2 separate regions of the Homo sapiens genome follow, and region 1 is linked to region 2. The links are contacts of gene promoters, found by promoter capture Hi-C in blood cells and fetal thymus (Javierre and others, 2016). All regions are on one chromosome and are shown on one strand. Each heading gives the region's core, a stretch centred on a gene start or on the middle of the fragment in contact. The rest is flanking DNA. Distances are from core to core; before and after follow the strand shown. Region 1 holds the start of GMCL2 (germ cell-less 2, spermatogenesis associated). Region 2 holds the start of SLC34A1 (solute carrier family 34 member 1).

Region 1 (4,595 bases), core at 1,129-3,628, 800 kb after region 2:
GGCTTTAAAATGATTTTTTTTGTATATGCATAGAAATGCAATGAGGATAAGAATAGTCTTCTGTATTGTCCGTACAGTTCATAAGGCCTTTGTCATTGTTAGTCAACTTAGATGTGAATATCAGTAGGGCCATTAAATTAAAGCTGGCCTGAAAGTTTTCAAAGTGCTACTGTTTCCAACTGATGAGATCTTCAGTTTTCTGGATTTTCTGGGTGACGATTATTTTCAATTCCTTTTTCTGGTGATATATACAAGAAGTTACAGCAGATATATAAAGGGAAGGTCAGAAACCTGCTGTCCAAGTTCATCACCACTTGTTCCTGATCCTTTTTAAGTATAAGTATTTGATAGCCAGTTGTTCTACTACATACTAGTTTTCCACTACTATCAAAAGAAGCCAAGCGTAATCTAAATGCTATGCTCCTTCGAGGCCGTAAACTGACAGACCCGCTGCGTGGCTGATTCAGTGTATTGCGTTTGAAAATGATGTATCCATTGGTGTAAATTACAAGTAGGTCAAAGCCGAAGTTAAAACCCGTCCAACACCAGTAGTATTCACCATCTTTGGCAAGCTTTCTACCACACCTCATGCTATTTCCCTCTAGGTCTTCTTTATTGATTTCTTGAGGCCCTACCTCACGGTCTTGTTCTGCCCGCAGCATAGCAAACCACTGCTGTTTATACACAGAAGACAGCCATTCTGAAGGTACTATACCATCTTGTTCAATAATTCTTGCAGAAGCTAGGTCACTGATAATATATTGTAACCTTAAATGTCTGAATACTGACACAAATGGTTTTCCTGGTTCAGTTTCAAGAAAGGCCATACCTTCAAAATCTTTTCTCTGTTTAGAAAACCAGACATCTGTTTCTGTCAAAAGCTGTTTTAAAGATCCATTCCAAGAAGGCACAAGTTGAAGGAACATCCACTTTTTTAGAGTGGTGTATACATCCATCTCCACTTGCATCACAAATAAGTTAGAGGAACCAATGAGCTGTTTCATGACATTTATACCGAGTTCTTTAAAAAGTTTAACATTCTGGTGAGTCATCAAATTGTTTAGAAGCCATTCAAGGCACTTTTTCTTTACAGAATCTAATCCATAGATCTCTACTGATGTGTAATAACCGCATACAGTTTTCACATTAATTGTTTCCTTCATTGTCTCACCACACTGCTGTATTAAACCATCCAGCTGCAGCATACAAGCTGCTGCCAAAATGGCAACAACTCGACTGGGTTTTATCAAGACATCATCTCGATACAGTGAACCAAACGCAACCTGCAGTGCGTCTACATCAATGTTCTGGTCAGGAATCTCCAGTTCAATAATATTCATGCTGGATTCTTTCCAAGAACCACTGAACATACTAGAAAAGTAGCCAGATTGACATAAATATATTTTGTGTAATCGCCATTCTTCTCCTAGAGCACAAATCTTAATGTCACTGTTTTCACCATTCAAAAATAATGTTTGATAAATATATTTGGATGTACTCCTTAATTTTTTCCTTGCAGGGGTGTTGAGGAGCGGCTGCTGCTTGTCCCCCTCCTCCTCATGCTCCTCCCTGTGCGAGTCCGGGTCACAGTAGCGGCAGGCCCCGCTGCTCCGCTTGCGCTTGTGACTGCCCGGGCAGTAACAGAAGCCGTAGCTCGCCGCATCGTCTCCAGTGTCCGGCCTCCGGGCCGAGCCCCTGGCCCTGGCACCCTGTTCCTGCTGGGCAAGGGCTCGCCTCGGCTGGCCCAGCACCCGGCTGCTCGACGATCCCATGGGTCACGGCTCCCCAGGACTTCAGGGAGCCCAGAGGAGGGGGTCTCTGGCCATGGCCCGGCCGCCGCCGCCAGCCTTCCCCGAGCACAGGTGCCTACACCGCCACCTTCTCACGCGCAGCCCCAACCGTTGCAGCGGACACTGCCGCCTCCAACCTCCGCACCCCTCCCCCACAATTTTTTTTTTTTTTTTTTTTTGAGACGGAGTCTTGCTCTGTCGCCCAGGCTGGAGTGCAGTGGCGCGATCTCGGCTCACTGCAACCTCTGCCTCGCGGGTTCAAGTGATTCTCCTGCCTCAGCCTCCTGAGTAGCTGGGATTACAGGCGCCCGCCACCACACCTGGGTAATTTTTGTATTTTTAGTAGAGGCGGGGTTTCCCCATGTTGGCCAGGCTGGTCTCAAACTCCTGACTTCAGGTGATCCTCTTACCTTGGCCTCCCAAAGTGCTGGGACTACAGGCGTGAGCCACTGCCTCCGGCCTAAAACAATTTCTTTTAGAGACAAGGTTTCACTGTGTTTCTCCGGGTGGTCTTGAACTCCTTGGACAGCATTCTTCATTGCTGGAAGCAATTCTCATCTGGCAGCCAAAACCAAGGTCCGTTTTAGAAGGACCACTTCCCTAGGAGCAAAGTTTTATTTGCAAGACCTGACAAAGGAAAATGTGTGTACCAGACGCTTGAGCCTAACCAGTCCAATGTAAATTTGCGACCAGGCACAAAAATAAAATAAAATAATAAAATAAAATAGGCCAGGCTCGGTGGCTCATGCCTATAATCCCAGCACTTTGGGAGGCCAAGGTGGGTGGATCACATGAGGTCAGGAGTTTGAGACTGGCCTGGCCAACATGGTGAAACCCCATCTCTACTAATAATATAAAATTTAGCCAGGTGTGGTGGTGCACGCCTGTAATCCCAGCTTTTCGGGAGGCTGAAATGGAGAACTGCTTGAACCCAGGAGGCAGAAGTTGCAGTGAGCCAAGATCGCATCATTACATTCCAGCCTGGGCGACAAGAGCGAAATTCCGTCTCCAGAAAAAAATAATAAGATAAAATAAAATAGAATAAAGACTTGAAGTCAAGCCAGGTACGGTGGCTGCTCACACCTGTAATCCCAGCACTTTGGGAGGCCGAGGTGGGCAGATCACGAGGTCAGGAGTTCAAGACCAGCCTGGCCAATATGGTGAAAGTGACCATGGCTGGGTGAAATGATCACTGCAGCCGGTCTGGGAAGGCAGAAGCAAGCAGAGGGCCTGGGCAGGATAGGCAGGGATTCTCTGTGGGGAGGATCTGTGGAGACAGGGGCAGCAGGATTAGGATGTCGGAATTGAGGAGGCTTTTGTCCTTGGGGGATGGAGTGGAGAAGTGGGGCATGGTCCTGGAAATTTGCCCTGCAGCCTCACCAGGCCATCTGGAAGCTACTTGTTGGGAACCCCGTGTGTGTAAAGGGCTGACCCAGGCCCAGACCCGGAGGAACTGGAGAAGGGCACACACTGAGACCACCCGAGGGGTGTGCTGGAACTGCTTGGCCAGTCCTTGGGGATGGGATGGCTGGGGCATGTGGGTGTCTTCCTGTAAGAAAACAGGACTTGATGAGGAAGGTGGGAGGCTGTTCCAGGCAGATGGAGGTCTGTGCCCCCAGAGCAATGTAGGAGTCGCCATGCGGGGCTCCATCTTTGGTACAGTGGGGGCAGAGATTGGCGAGGGGCATCAGGGCCAGATATGTAGGTGTGGGGAGCCCTAGATGGGCCAGTGCTGCAGGGGGAGGCAAGGTCATGCCAGGGAGGTGGATGGGACGCTGGACACAAGTGAAGAGTGACCAGCCCTGTGGCTTCCTCAAACCTATGTGAGTGCCTGCCCCATTCCCAGATGAAGAAAACAGAGGTTTCAATAGGGAAAGTGACTTGTTCTAAATCCCAGAGTTGGGAAGTCAGGAAGCTCAGCCTCCTGATTCCAAAGGCAAATCTGGAGTTTCTGTTGGAGTTAAGGGGCCAGGTGAATGGTCTATGTTGACCAAAAAAAAAAAAAAAAAAAAAAAAAAGCTCTGTAAAATGTTTAAAGAAGTTTATTCTCTGGCGTGAACCCGGGAGGCAGAGCTTGCGCCACTGCACTCCAGCCTGGGTGACAGAGCGAGACTCCATCTCAAAAAAAAAAAAAAAAAAAGAAGTTTATTCTCAGCTGATATGAGTGACCATGACCTGGGGTACAGTCTCAAGAGGTCCTGAGAAAGTGTGCCTCAGATGGTTGGGTTATAGTTTGGTTTTATACATTTTAGGGAGACAGAGGTTACAAGCAAATACATCAATCAATACATGTAAAGTACACATTGCTTCAGCCTATAAGGGCAGGACAACTCCAGGGGAGTTACAGGTCATAGGTGATTCAAAGGTTTTCTGATTGGCAATTGGTTGAAAAAGTTAAGCTTTGTCTAAAGAGTTGAAGTGGCTGGGTACAATGACTGACATCTGTAATCCCAGCACTTTGAGAGGCCGAGGAGGATGGCTTGATCCCAGGAGTTTTCAACAAGCCTGGGCAGCGTAGTGAGACCCGGTGTCTACAAAAAAATTTTAAAAATTAATTGGGCATCGTGATGTGCACCTGTAGTCCCAGCTACTTGGGAGGCTAAGGTGGGAGGATTACTTAAGCCCAGGAGGTCGAGCCTATGGTGAGCCATGACTGTGACACTGCATTCCAACTCGGGGGACAGAATGAGACCCTGTCTCAAAAATAAAATAAAACAGGCCAGTTGCAGTAGCTCACACCTGTAATCCCAGCACTTTGGGAGGCCAAGGCAGATGGATCACTTGAGGTCAGGAGTTCAATACCAG
Region 2 (4,460 bases), core at 1,214-3,713:
GCAAAGCAGGTAGGAAGCCAAGTCACCCTGGTCCTTCCAGGCTACTATAGGATCCTGGGCTTTATGCTAAGTGGTTAGCAGGGGCAGGTTTCGAAAGGAAGAGGAGGTGACATGATTAACTTGGCCTTTTTTTTTTTTTCTTTTTGAGACAGAGTTTTGCTCTTGTTGCCCAGGCTGGAGTGCAATGTGCGATCTCGGCTCACTGCAACCTCTGCCTCCTGAGTTCAAGTGATTCTCCTGCCTCAGCCTCCCGAGTAACTGGGATTACGGGTGCCCGCCACCACGCCCCGCTAATTTTTTTGTATTTTTAGTAGACATGGGGTTTCACCATGTTGGCCAGGCTGGTCTCGAACTCCTGACCTCAGGTGATCCACCTGCCTTGGCCTCCCAAAGTGCTGGGATTACAGGCGTGAGCCACCGCGCCCGGCCTAGTTTGGCATTTTGAAAAGATTGCTGTCTGCTGCTTTGGAGCATGGATCAGGGGCAGCAAGGGCAGAAATGGACAGAGCACTTGGGAAGTGACCGCAATGACCCAGGGGAGATGACAGGCCCAGTCCAGGGAGGTGGCCACAGAGATGGCTAACAGCAAAAGATCAGGGAGCTCCTGGAGCAATAAAATTGGGAGAATTGAGGACTGAGTTGGAAACGAGGAAGTGGAGGGGAAGGAAACAGCAAGGATGTCTGCTTGGTGCCCGACCCAGATGGATGGACGGTGTGCCGCTCACCAAGATCAGGAAGAAGGAGGAGGCCCAGGTTTGGGGTGAGAAGCACAGTGCGTGCTTCTGGCTTGCAGAGCCAACTGCTCGTGCCAGAGGCCGCTCAGAAAGCCTGAGCAGACGGAGCTTGGCACCTTCCCTCCAAAACAGCTCCTCCTGCTGGGTTCCTTTCTCAACGCGAGACACCCCCAACCAGGCAGGCTCTCAGCCCAGAAAAGGTCTGGGGAGGCCATGGCCAGAGCCCAGGTGCACAGACAAGGTGGGACTCACCACCCAGGGGGACACACAGACTCTGTCACTGGCCAGGGAGGAGGCAGGCAGTAGGCAGGGAGGTGCTGAAATGGCAGAGAGGCTGGCAAGAGATACGTTGGTGCTGGAATGGAGCTGCCTTCTCTGCTGCTTGTATGAGTCCCAACAGCAGCTCTGGTCAGATCCAGCATTTTCTCACTTTCACTAGGGCTGTAGCCCCAAAATAAATCTTTAGAAGTGGTGGCTGTGTAAATCAGCAGCATTTTGGAATTATATCTCTTGATGGATTTGATCGATAGCTAACTGCCTCCCCCACTAAACCCAGAGCTCCGTGACAGCAGGGAAGGCAAACTTCAAAAATATCAAAAAGCACAACCTTATTAAAAAGGAGAAACACCCCCAGTTCACCAGGAGCACCTTGGATTCAGCTGCTCCTGCCAAGGGTCTGAACTGCACGGGGGAATGGAGAGAAACAGGTCACGTGGGCCGGGGTCTCTGGGCCCGCTGTGGGGGTGTCAGTTTGCTCATAGGTGGAGACACTCGATGTGACATTAACAGCACCTTCAAGCCCAAGGACCCAGAGATTCTGACACAAGAACTGAGAACTGATTGCATTTCCGTGACTCAGCGACACCCTCCTACCTGGGCATGAACCCAGCCCTAGCCAAAGATCCAGAGACCCGACTCCCATCTATTTCCTTTTCCTCTCTCCCTCCCCGTCACCAATTCTACTGGTCAGATGTCCCTGGGATGCACCTGTCCTCCCCAGCCCCTCCGTTCCCATCGGAGTTCAGGCCTCATCATCTCCTGCCTGGACCATTAGCCTCTTAACTGGCCCCTCCGCTTCCAGGCTCCCTTCCATATATCCGGGTTCCACCCCGGGGGCCATTCTAAAAGGCAGATCAGGCCCATCCCAGTCTGGCCAGCGGCTCCACATTCACTCAGACTCACATCCTGGACCCATGGTCGGGCATTAGAGACCTGCCACGATTCAACATTCCACGGCCTTTCCAGCTTAGGTCCTCATCTCACACTCCCTCTCCTCTGAGCTCCCCCTGGGAGACTTACAGACACCCCGACGCTTGGCAAGGCCATAGGATGTTTTTGTTTGGTTTGGTTTGGTTTTTCTGAGACAGTCTCACTCTGTCACCCAGGCTGGAGTGCAGTGGCACGATCTTGGCTCACTGCAACCTCCGAAGGCCATAGGATGTTTGGGTCATTCCCTGGGGAGTCCTGTCAGGCCAGGAACGAGGGGACCCTGGGAACAAGGTGCTGAGTGGCATCAGGGTCTCTGCCTGCAGGCGGGGGATGTGTCTGGGTCGTGGTTGATGGGAAGAACCTGACCATAGATTCCCCATGCAGAGCTGACGATTAGCAATTAACTGGGAGGAATCTCAGGGGTGAGGTTAATTGGGGGACAGAGGGAGGGCAGCTAGGGTTCCAGGGACTTTGCCCTTGACCCAAGAGTATAAAGAGGAGGGTCTCAGTTCTCCTCAGGGTCCTGGAGGCTTCATTGAGCTGCTGAGCAGAAGCTGAAACACAGAATTCTAAGGTGAGCCCAGGACCCTCACATCCCAACCCCACCCCCAGCTCTGAGTAGGAAACAGCCCAGCACCCCAGCCCCTTCATCTGTGTCCTATCTGCGCCCACCCCCACCGCGCCCCATATAACATGTCAGTCCAGCCAATCGCGGTGGCTCCCACCTGTAATCCCAGCACTTTGGGAAGCCGAGTGGGCGGATCACCTGAGGTCGAGTTTGCACTAAAAATACAAAAAATTAGCCAGGTGTGGTGGCAGGCACCTGTAATCCCAGCTACTTGGGAGGCTGAGGCAGGAGAATCGCTTGAACCCACGAGGCAGAGGTTGCAGTGAGCCAAGATTGTGCCACTGCACTCCAGCCTGGGCGGTAAGAGTGAAACTCCATCTCAAAAAAAAAAAAAAAAAGGACTCCTGCTCCTTCAGGACTTGAATTCAACTCTTCACACCCCTACAACAGCCAAGGACGCTGGGACAATGCGGGGAGTGCTGAGGCAGATCAGGGCACTCCACCCCAATAGCCAAGACTCCTGGGGCAGTGCGGGGACAAGGGGGGGCTGAGGCAAGCCTGTCAGTGTTTGTTCATTGCCCCTTGAGGGGGTGGATGGGGAAAGGAATTCATTGTGAGGGGAACCCAGGAACTCGGGATCCGGCCCAGGGGATCTCCGTGTGTGCCCAGCTGACCCCATGAGAAGGCAGGTGTCTGCAGCTCCTCCTTGCTCTCCAGGTGGGCAAAACTGAAGCCCGGCCCAGCCCCAGCCCACACCTGCAGCCACTGCCAACACCACGTATTCCCTGGCCCCCTCCAGCCCCAAACAGGCTGGGCGTCCTCAGTTCTCAGTGTCTTTTATCAATGCTATATCCAAGCCTCTGGTTCGGAGCCTGGGCTAGAGCTCAATAATACTCATTGAATGAGTGAATGGTGAATGAATGATCACCTCACCACCACCACACACACCCCTCCGAGACTCACATGCAGGTGCCCAGCACAGATGTGCACATGTGAGTCTGCATGTGAGTCTCGGAGGGCTGTGGTGGTGATGATGGAGGGTGTGGTTTGCTGGGTGTGTGTTTGTGCGTGTGAGTCTCGGAGGGGTGTGTGTGTGTGGTGAGGATGGAGGGTGTGCTTTGCTAGGTGTGTATTTGGAATCATGCGCCATGGGGGTTTGTGCAGGTGAGGGTGTGTGGGCATGAGTGTCCCGGACACAGCTATTGTCATTCAGCGTTGCTGAGACCCACTGACCTGCAGACCTCATAGTGGGTGCCCAGGATGTTGTCCTACGGAGAGAGGCTGGGGTCCCCTGCTGTCTCCCCACTCCCAGTCCGTGGGGGGCATGTGATGCGAGGGACGGCCTTTGCCTACGTGCCCAGCCCTCAGGGTAAGTGCTGCTCCCACACCCTGGACCCTGGTTGCCCACGGTTGCCCACATCCCGGATGAGGCCACTTCCCCCGCCTGTTCCTCCCCGCCTCCCCACTTTGGGGCCCTGGGGCTCCTGACCAGGCTCCCTCCCTAGTCCTACACAGGATCCCGGGGACCTCTGCCTATGCCTTCCCCAGCCTGGGCCCTGTGGCCCTTGCTGAGCACACCTGCCCCTGTGGGGAGGTCCTGGAGCGCCATGAACCACTGCCTGCCAAGCTGGCCCTGGAGGAGGAGCAGAAGCCAGGTGGGCCTGGGCTGGGGGTGGCAGAGGCGGCAGCAGTCCCTGCCCTGGCCTCTGCCCACTATGCTCATGGCTTCCCCCATCCAGAGTCCAGGCTGGTCCCCAAGCTGCGCCAGGCTGGCGCCATGCTGCTCAAGGTGCCACTGATGCTCACCTTCCTCTACCTCTTCGTCTGCTCCCTGGACATGCTCAGCTCGGCCTTCCAGCTGGCTGGAGGTAGGGCCCGGGTGGAGGAGACCTGGGAGGGGTTCCTGAAGGGCCTTGGACAACGCTGGCTCATGCTCCCCAGGGAAGGTG

What was found. The method cuts DNA at HindIII sites, captures the fragments that hold promoters and counts their contacts. A CHiCAGO score of 5 or more calls a contact.
Region 1: a contact is called between a fragment that was not itself captured here and the fragment with the promoter of SLC34A1 in region 2, in 1 of 17 cell types (naive B cells). The highest score is 5.1, in naive B cells.

Annotation. Positions count from the first base shown.
Region 1 is chr5:178,185,528-178,190,122 of GRCh38, forward strand. GMCL2 (germ cell-less 2, spermatogenesis associated) reads right to left here and starts at 1,844. Exons shown (of 1, transcript NM_001358008.2): 1 at 1-1,844. The coding sequence starts at 1,772. The coding sequence ends at 192. The HindIII fragment of the contact is 3,617 bases long and covers 571-4,187 here.
Region 2 is chr5:177,381,971-177,386,430 of GRCh38, forward strand. SLC34A1 (solute carrier family 34 member 1) reads left to right here and starts at 2,464. Exons shown (of 13, transcript NM_003052.5): 1 at 2,464-2,517; 2 at 3,725-3,880; 3 at 4,017-4,166; 4 at 4,251-4,379; 5 at 4,453-4,460. The coding sequence starts at 3,772. The HindIII fragment of the contact is 19,795 bases long and covers 1-4,460 here.